2 separate regions of the Homo sapiens genome follow, and region 1 is linked to region 2. Evidence: promoter capture Hi-C in 16 types of primary human blood cells and fetal thymus (Javierre and others, 2016). All regions are on one chromosome and are shown on one strand. The core of a region is centred on a gene start or on the middle of the fragment in contact, and the rest is flanking DNA. Distances in the headings are between cores, read along the strand shown.

What was found. The method cuts DNA at HindIII sites, captures the fragments that hold promoters and counts their contacts. A CHiCAGO score of 5 or more calls a contact.
Region 1: a fragment that was not itself captured here is called in contact with the fragment with the promoter of GBP7 in region 2 in 3 of 17 cell types (total CD8 T cells, non-activated CD4 T cells and activated CD4 T cells); the score reaches 5.3 in total CD8 T cells.

The regions. Positions count from the first base shown.
Region 1 is chr1:89,318,332-89,323,264 of GRCh38, forward strand. No RefSeq gene overlaps it. Among named protein-coding and RNA genes, the nearest start is that of GBP6, 43 kb to the right of the region's middle. The HindIII fragment of the contact is 2,856 bases long and covers 176-3,031 here.
Region 2 is chr1:89,173,561-89,178,280 of GRCh38, forward strand. GBP7 (guanylate binding protein 7) reads right to left here and starts at 2,443. Exons shown (of 11, transcript NM_207398.3): 1 at 2,361-2,443. All of the region lies in intron 3 of LOC105378842 (a long non-coding RNA gene), which reads left to right. The HindIII fragment of the contact is 1,918 bases long and covers 897-2,814 here.

The DNA of each region.
Region 1 (4,933 bases), core at 354-2,853, 140 kb after region 2:
AAAAATGTTGAGGGCTGCTAGAGAGAAAGGTCAGGTTACCTACAAAAGGAAGCTCATCAGACTAATAGCAGATCTCTCTGCAGAAACCCTACAAGCCCGAAGACAGTGGGGGTCAATATTCAACATTCTTAAATAGAAGAATTTTCAACCCAGAATTTCATATCCAGCCAAACTAAGCTTCATAAGCAAAGGAGAAATAAAATTCTTTACAGACAAGCAAATGCTGAGGGATTTTGTCACCACCAGGCCTGCCTTACAAGAGCTCCTGAAGGAAGCACTAAATATGGAAAGGAAAAACTGATACCAGCCACACCAAAAACAGACCAAAATATAAAGACCAATGACACTAGGAAGAAACTGCATCAACAAATGTGCAAAATAACTAGCTAGCATCATGATGACAGGATCAAATTCACACATAACAATGTTAACCTTAAATGTAAATGGGCCAAATGACCCAATTAAAAGACACAGACTGACAAATTGAATAAAAAGTCAAGATCCATTGGTGTGCTGTATTCAGAAGACCCATCTCATGTGCAGTCACACATAGGCTCAAAATAAAGGAATGAAGGAATATTTACCAAGCAAATGGAAATAAAAGAAAAAAAAAGCAGGGGTTGCAATGACAGTCATGATGAATGATCTTTCAAATTTGATGTTGAATTTGCTTTGCTGGTATTTTGTTGAGGATATTTGTATCAATATTAACCAGAGATATTAGCCTGTTGTTTTCTTTTTTTGATGTTTCTTTGCTTTTGGCATCAGGGTAATACCGGCCTTGTAGAATAAGTTTCATAGTATTCCCTCTCCTTCTTTTTTGGGGGAATAGTTTGAGTTGGATTGGTATTCTTTTTTAAATGTCTGGTAGAGTTCAGCATTGAGACCATTGGGTCCTGGGCTTTTCTTTGCTGGGAGACTTTTTATTATGGCTTTGATGTCATTACTTTTTATTGCTCTATTTAGGCTTCAGATTTCTTAATGGTTCAATCTTGGTAGGTTGTGTATGTCTAGGAATTTATCCACTTCTTTTAGGTTTTCCAATTTGTGGACATACAGTTGTTCATAGTAGTCCAGTGATTCTTTACATTTCTGCAGTATAAGTTGTAATGTCTCCTTTTTCATCTCTGATTTTATTTATTTGGGTCTTCTGTCTTTATCAGTTAGTCTGGCTAAAAGTTTGCCAATTTTCATTATCTTTTCAAAAAACCAACTTTTCTTTTTGATGACATTTAGTATTGCTTTTCTCATTTCAATTTCTTTTTTTTTCCTGCTCAGATCATTATTATGTCTTTTCTTCTACTAATGTTAGGTTTGGTTTGCTCTTGCTTTTCTAGTTCCTTAAGATGCATCATTAGATTATTTGAAGTATTGCTCCCTCTTTGTTGTAGGTGCTTATTGCTATAAACTTTCCTCTTAGTACCACTTTTGCTTATCCCATAAGTTTTGGTATGTTTTCTTTCCATTTGCATTTGTTTCAGGAATTCTTAAATTTGATTCTTGTTTTTTGACCCACTGGTCATTCAGGAGCAAATTGATTAATTTCCAAATGTTTGTGTTCCTTTTAAGTTTTCTCATATGCTTGATTTCTAGTTTTATTCCATTGTGGTCAGAGAAGATACTTGATATGTGTCAAGTATCATATTTACCTTTTTTGTATTTTTCAGACTGATTTTGTGGCTTAAAGTATAGTCTATACTTGAGGATGATCTATTTCCTGAGCAGAAGAACGTGTATTTTTCAACCCTTGGATGAAATAATCTGTAAATATCTATTAGGTCTTTTGGTCTATAGTATAGATTAGGTCTGATATTTTCTTTGTAATTTTTGTTTGGCTGATCTGTCCAATGCTGAAGGTGAGGTGTTGAAATCTCCAGCTGTTATTATACTGTGGTCTGTCTCTCTCTTTTGAACTAATAATATTTGCTTTATATATCTAGATGCTCCAGTATTGGGTGCATATATATTTACAATGGTTATATCCTCTTGCTATATTAATCCCTTTTACTCGTTACATAGTGACATTCTTTGTCTTTTTTATAGTTTTTATCTTGAAATGCTTTTATCTGATATAAGTATAGCTACTCCTGCTCTTTTTTTGGTTTCCATTGGCATGGAATGTCTTTTTCCTTCTTCTTATTTTCAGTTTGTGTGTGTCTTTATAGGTGAAGTGTGTTTCTTGTAGGCAACAGATCACTGGATTCTGTTTTTTTAATCCATTCGGCCTCTCTGTGTCTTTTGATTGGAGAGTATAGTCCATTTGCATTCAATGTTATTGTTGCTAAATAACAACTTACTCCTGCCATTTGGTTTTGTTTTCTGGTTGTTTGTGGTCTTCTCTTTCTTCTCTTCTTCCTTCATGTCTTTCTTTTTGTGAAAGTGATTTTCTTGTTGGTATGTTTTAAGTTCTTGCTCTATACATTTTTTGTGTATCTGTTGTAGGTTTTTTGATTTGTGGTTACCACAAGGCTTGCAACTAATATCTTGTAACTCATTATTTTACACTGATGACAGTTAAACTCTAATTGCTAAAATCTACAAAAAAAAACTGACAAGCAAAGAGAAAACTAATAACATTCAACACTTTAACTTCATCCTCTCTGCTTTTCAACTATTCGTTGTTTCTATTTATATCTTATTATACTATGTCTTAAAAAGTTGTTGTGGTTATTATTTTCGATAAATTTGTCTTTTACTCTTCCTATGCAAGGTATGAGTAGTTTACATACCACAATTACAGTGTCATATTATTTTATATTTGTCGGTATACTCACTGTTACCAGTGAATTTTATGTACTCAGATGATTTTTTTTTTGCTCATTAACATGCTTTCCTTTCAGATTGAAGTACTCTCTTTAGCATTTCTTTTAGGACAGGTCTTATGTTGATGAACTACCTCAGCTTTTGTTTGCTGGAAAAGTCTTTACTTTTCCTCTATGTTTGAAGGATATTTTCACTGGTATGATATTCTAGGATAAAAGATTTTTTTTTAGCAGTTTAAATATATTATACCACTTACTCCTGGCTAGTAAGCTTTCCACTGAGTAATATGTGCTAGACATATTGAAGCTCCTTTATATGTTTTTTTTTTTCTTTTCTCTTTTTGCTTTTAGTATGCCTTATTTATCCTTGACCTTTGGGAGTTTGATTATTAAACATATTGAGGTAGTCTTATTTGTGTTAAATCTGCCTGGTCTCCTATAATCTTCTTGTTCTTGAATATTGTTATCTTTCCCTAGGTTTGGTAATGTCTATTTTTATCCCTATGAATAAGATTTCTAACTCAGCCTCTCTTTACCTCCTCATTAAGGCCAATAACATTTAGATTTGCCTTTTTGAGGCTGTTTTCTAGATCCTATAGAGATGCTTCCTTTTTTTATTCTTTTAACTTCTATCACTGTGTATTTTCAAATAGCCTGTCTTCAAGATCACTAATTTTTTCTTCTCCTGGATTGCTGTTGTGAGATTCTGATATATTCTTTAGTTTTAGTTTGTCAATTGAATTTCTTCAGCTCCAGCATTTCTGCTTAATTCTTTTAAATTATTTCAATCACTTTGTTAAATGTTTCCGATGGGATTCTGAATTCCTTCTCTGTGTTACCTTGGATTTTATTGAGCTTCCTCAACACAGCAATCTTGAATTCTCTGTGTGAAATGTCACATATCTCTGTCACTCCAGAATTGGTCACTGGTACCATATTTAGTTCATTTGGCGATGTCATGTTTTCCCAGATGGTCTTGATGTTTGTGGATGTTTCTTGATGTCTGGGCATTGAAGTTAGTTATTTATTCTAATCTTCATGGTCTGGGCCTGTTTGTACCCATCCTTATTGAGAAGGCTTTCCAAGTATTTAAGGGGAAATAATTCTTGTCATCTAAGTCTTTAGTCATTGCAACCATATATGCATTAGTGGGCACCCCAAGCCCAGTGACACTGTGACTCTTGCAGAGTTGTAGAGTTATTGCCTTTTTCTTGGGTAAGATCCAGTAGAATTCTCAGGATTACTAGGCACAAACTTTTGTTCTCTTTCCCTCCTTTCCCCAAAACAACAGAATTGCCCAGGAATTGCAATTCTTGTAGCCTAGACTGCATTTCTAGTTTATTTAGAACCCCAGAGCACTTTAGATATTAGGTCCTCTTATTTCTCTTACTAAATATAGCACAAAGCCATGTGTTTCTTTCTATTTCTATTGTATCATCCACGGTGGTGGGGCTGGCTGTAGTTCAAATTCTACCACTGGGATACATGAATTATTCCCCCTTGGCTAAGATTGCTTTAAATGCTTCCTCCATGGGTGCTGGCCAAATTCTGCCCAGTGTTATTTTCCACTGTGATGGGACAGCACTGAGTTCCCATGCAGAATCTCACAATAACTTCACTCTCCCTCCCCCAAGCACACAGATTCTCTCTCCATGCCATGCTGTGCTGCCTAGGGATTGAGGAGAGGTGCTGTAGGAAGTTCAAGGCTGTCTTTCCTACCCTCTTCAGTGCCTCTTTCCTTGATATGATGTTAAAATCAGGTATTGTGATTGCCACCTGATTTTTGGTTCTTATGGAGGTTGCTCTTCTGGGGATAGTTATTCAATTTTGTGTTCCTGCTTGGAGAATGAACGCTGGAGGGTTCTATTTGGCCATCTTGTTCCACCTCCCCCTCCTCTTATTTTTCTTGCTCAGTATAGCACAAATCCATTTATTCTGCTCCATTGATATTGTATCATCTTAAGCTGTCTTCTTCATCTTTTGCTTAAAATACTTACTAGCATACTATCTTTCTTGCTTCCACTTTCTGGCTTTCACTCTGTAATCAACTCTTTTCAAAGCAACAAGAGTGATCTTAAATCTAGCTTCTTTAAATACCCTCCTTAAACTTCCATTAGATTTATATAAAATCCATACTTCTTGTAGGTTCATTATGATCTATTATTTTCTAT
Region 2 (4,720 bases), core at 1,193-3,692:
TATTAGTGTACAGTTCTTTTGGTCTTTAGCCTTATATACACACTCAAAACATTGCATTCCAAAGTTGCTTAGGTTAGCTTTTTCCTTCTCCACCTTCTTCAGTATGGTTAAATTATTCATTTGTAAAACAGTTAGTTACATTTGTTACTGTTTGTGTTTCAGTTTGGCCTCCTTCACATCTTGGTATCTTGGTTGATTTTAAGTATGATTTATTTTTTGAGTTTGTGAAACATCATGGTTCTGAAATGCAGAGCTTTTCAAAAAGTTACAGTCAGAGAAGTGTCACTTTTCCTTCATCTTACCACTCCACTCACATTGCAGTGGTCTTCTATTCTTTCTACCACATTCCCACCCATCCTCCATAGATACCCAATCTTGTTAGTTTCTGGTTTACGCTTCTTGGATTTTCTTTTCTCAAATGAGAATGTACATATTTTCTTTTTCACATTTTCTAACACGAAGATCACATCATATAGAAATTTGGAAATCCCTCCACATCTGTTCATAGAAAGCTTTTAAAATCCTTTTAACATGTATCTACTCCTTTATGTGGATTATACCCCAGTTTATTCAATCACTCTTCAATGTATGGGCATTTAGATTGTTTCAAATATTTTGCAATTACAAACAATGCTGCAATGAATAACTCTGCTAACGTTATGCATGTGTATTTTTATATTGTTACAGGAGTAATTTCAGGATAGAGTCCTACCAACGGGATTGCTTGGTCAAAAGATGAGAGTATATAATTTTGTAGATATTGCCAAGTTCCTCTCCAGAAAGTTGTACAAGGTTGCATTCCCACCAGCTCATCTTGTATGTCATTTTCTAGAAAATGGAATTTTTCCTAGGTGCCCCGCTTGCTCTTCTGAATTAATTACAAAATTTCCTTTGGAAGCTTTTCACGTTCACATTTAGATCTTTGGACTGAGCAAAGCTGAGCTCGCTGAGCTCATGTATATAGTAGTAGTAATCTTCACCTGGGAAACATTGTGTTATACATATCTCTATACTTTGAAACATAGATACCATTCTAACCCATTCTTGGTCCTGATTTCTTGCAAGCCCCTCTGTGGGCAGGGTCTGGTCAGACTGTGGGACTCAGGTTACCCAATGGCTTCCTCCTCTCACTGTGCATCAGCATTCACACGTTATTCATGCAAGCCTGATAGCTCGCACCTGACACTTACTCTGTTGATTTTTGACTTGATTATGTTAACAGATTTTGAATTCTCTGCATTTGAAGATTGATTCTTTATTACCTCCATGTATATCAGTCTGCATATTGTTTTTAATTATTTCATGTAATGAAGTCACAGCATGAAACATTCTTTGAAAAACCATGGCTTGTTTTTTGTCTGATCTCTGCTGTATAGAGAGTAGCATATGCACAATTGTAATCATGCTATCTTTATCCAGGGCTTGATAAATTAAATATTTTGATAATTTTGTAAAGTTAAAAGGAGTGAAAAGCCTTCTTGTAGTGATGCTTTAATTTTGTGTTTTTAAGTTGAATGTCTCAATCCTTGTAACTTATGTGATCATGATACAAAATATATAATCTCTTTAAGATACAAGCAAATATAGATGATAGATACTGCAGTTTTCTTTTTTATCCTATAATAAAGAGTGGTTTGTTTCCACTATAGAGTTGGTTACTTCTGACTTGTTCCTCTGGAGGTTTATATTAAATTATCTGGCTTCCCATCACTTCAGCAGAAGATGGAAAAAAAGCCGTTTATTTTTCTGTGATCATGACCCATTTCCTCTTATAGCAATGGCCTACAGGATCTGCTGGCAAGCAAGAAGGGCAAACCAGAAACTAAAAAGATTGGGTATCTATGGAAGATGAGTGAAAACAGAGTATGCGTCTGTCCAATTCTGTAGCATATACTATGCTACCATAACATAGGAATCAATCAGTCACCGGCTCAGAAAGGTGGTGGCACAAAGATGTTATAAGGTCCTGGATTATAATAATGTGTTGCCTCTTTTTGCAGATCCCAAGTTGCCTACCTTCATTTACCTAGAGCTATAAATGTTGGGCCCAATAAAGAAAGTGACAGAGCCTATTAGGCAGATATTTAAAGATAACAGTAATTTAAGATGGTGTCAGAAAAGAAATAACAATCTTAGAACACTGGCTTCTCTGAATATCTGTTCCACCTCTGCTGAAGCCTAATCTGACACAGCAGGAATTAGAGCACACTAAGGTACACACAGCCACCTAAGAGGCCAGGATTTCATCTGGACTTGTATCCTGTAGCTGGCTCAGCTGCAGCCTATCTTGGGGATGGTCAACTTAGAGAAAACTAATGGATCCTTATAAATCATGAAATCCTTATAAGTCATAGTCTTACCCAGAGTAGAGATCCTCTGGACTTGGTAAGAAGGCAGCTTCAATGAGAAAGTTATGAGTCTTTATTCTCTTCTCTTTAGTTCTGAATTTGGCTGCACTGATTTCTCCCACTTTTTTTCTTGCTGGAACTTTGGACTTTTACCTTACCTCTCCAATGTCATGGGGCTTTCCAGACTTTCTAGAGACCTGTATTTATACATGTAAAAAACAATGCAACCTCTGCAAATAAATAGAGTAATATGACAGTCCATGATTTAGCAACAATAAAAGAAATTGCTGACAGCTGTGCTAGTGAGAGGATTTGACATAATTTCTCAAACAGAATCTTCCAATTTTATTATTGGAAGAGATCTTAGAGACAGCTTGCGATTATTAAAAAAACTTCAATGAATCGTTTAAAATAATGACATTCATCTCATGTTTGTGGGCCACATTGAGAAGTACAGGAATAAGAAAGCTTAATATAATATTATTTAGGTTCAATTGGCTTGAATATTAGACTCTTAAAATGGAACTCATTATTTGTGTTTAATAATGAGGACTCTAAATGCCCTGAAGGAATGTCCACGTCTTATACATGTTTGAATTATTAGCACCTAACTCAGGTCTTGGCACTTAACATTTAATAAATAATAATGAAGATAGTACCCGTTTTGTTTACATAGATTATCCCATTGTATTCTTATCACAAATACTTTTACCACAATGTTAAAAGAGGGATTTAATAATTTATTACAATTACAGAGCTACTAAATAAGATTTGGGCCCAAGAAGTCTTGCTGTCAGTCACTTCATTAAAATACCTCTGTGTTTGCTGAGTGTACAATAACAATGTTTTCTCCTTATCAGTTCCATTCTAGGCCATATTCTTTACACATACCATTTTAAATATCAAAATACCTCAAGATAAAGGTTGTTTATTATCCCCATTGTCCAAGGGGGAAAAATAATCAGAAAACGGGTAATTAATATGTCTAACTAAAGCCATTGAGCTACACACCAAGGTAGCAAGTAATTGAGCGAGATTCAAACTTGAAAATCCATTTGGTTAAAACCACATTGATTCTCTACTGCACATTGTCTCTAAAAGAGAGGAAGGTGGGAAGCGGGGAAGAGAGAGAGAGAAATGGAGAGCAGAGAGTAAGACTTCTCTGTGTGTGTGTGAATATTGATGAGATTTAAAGTGAAAGTAAGGCAGGGTTATTTCAAAACAGAACTATTGCTAGGAAATCACCTGCTTCTAAGTAATAAAATCTATTGTTTATATCATGCAAACAAAAAATAGCCCCAGGCAAAATTGAATCTTTGTGAATCATGTATAATTTAAGGGTACATAAATTTATAAGAAAAAAAGATCCCACTTTCCCAACTTGTGTTTTTTTTTTTTGAGACAGAGTTTCTCTCTTGTTGCCCAGGCTGGAGTGCAATGGTACAATCTTCGCTCACTGCAACCTCCACCTCCTGGGTTCAAGCGATTCTCCTGTCTCAGCCTCCTGAGTAGCTAGGATTACAGGCATGAGCCACCAAGCCCGGCTAATTTTGTATTTTTAGTAGAGATGGAGTTTCTCTATGTTGGTCAGGCTGATGTCGAACTCCCAATCTCAGGTGATCCACCCGCCTCAGCCTCCCAAGGTGTTGGAATTACAGGTGTGAGCCACCATGCCAGACCCCAGCTTGTTTTTAGAGTGTTTCTTTAGAGACAAGTGGGCCAGAGTCCTTTCTTTAACCTTTTGAATACAAATAGAGCTTTCTAGGGGCTAAATATCAGTGCCAGCTTTACAACCCAGAGATGTCTTCAAGAGTCTGGGCTCCATGCCTTTTGAAATGGAAATATCCAGAAAGACAGAGACCCAGGCTTCCTGACACTTTGGGAGCTTAAGCCCGGTGCCTATCCTGTCTATAGCCATTTCTTCCAAGGGAGATAAATTTTAATATTCTTTTAGATAAGCAAATGGCTACCACATTTCCAAGGTGAGCATAGGATGAAGAATACAAGGAAGGTATAGCAAATTTGAGGATGTACCAGCAAATTGTGTTGTCAATTCTCTAATGGGAAAACAGGATGGCATTGATCCTAGGGAAACATGTTATATATAAACCAGCTAAAAATAGTGCAGTGTAAATGCTGGGCGAGGTGGCTCACACCTGTAATCCCAGCACTTTGGGAGACTGAGGTGGGTGGATCACTTGAGGTCAGGAGCTTGAGACCAGCCTGGTCAACACAGTGAAACCCCGACTCTGCAAAAATACAAAAAAATTAGCCAGGTGTGGTGGTACATGCCTGTACTCCCAGCTACTAGGGAAGCTGAAGCAGGAGAATCGCTTGAACCTGGGAGGCAGAGGTTGCAGTGAGCCGAGATA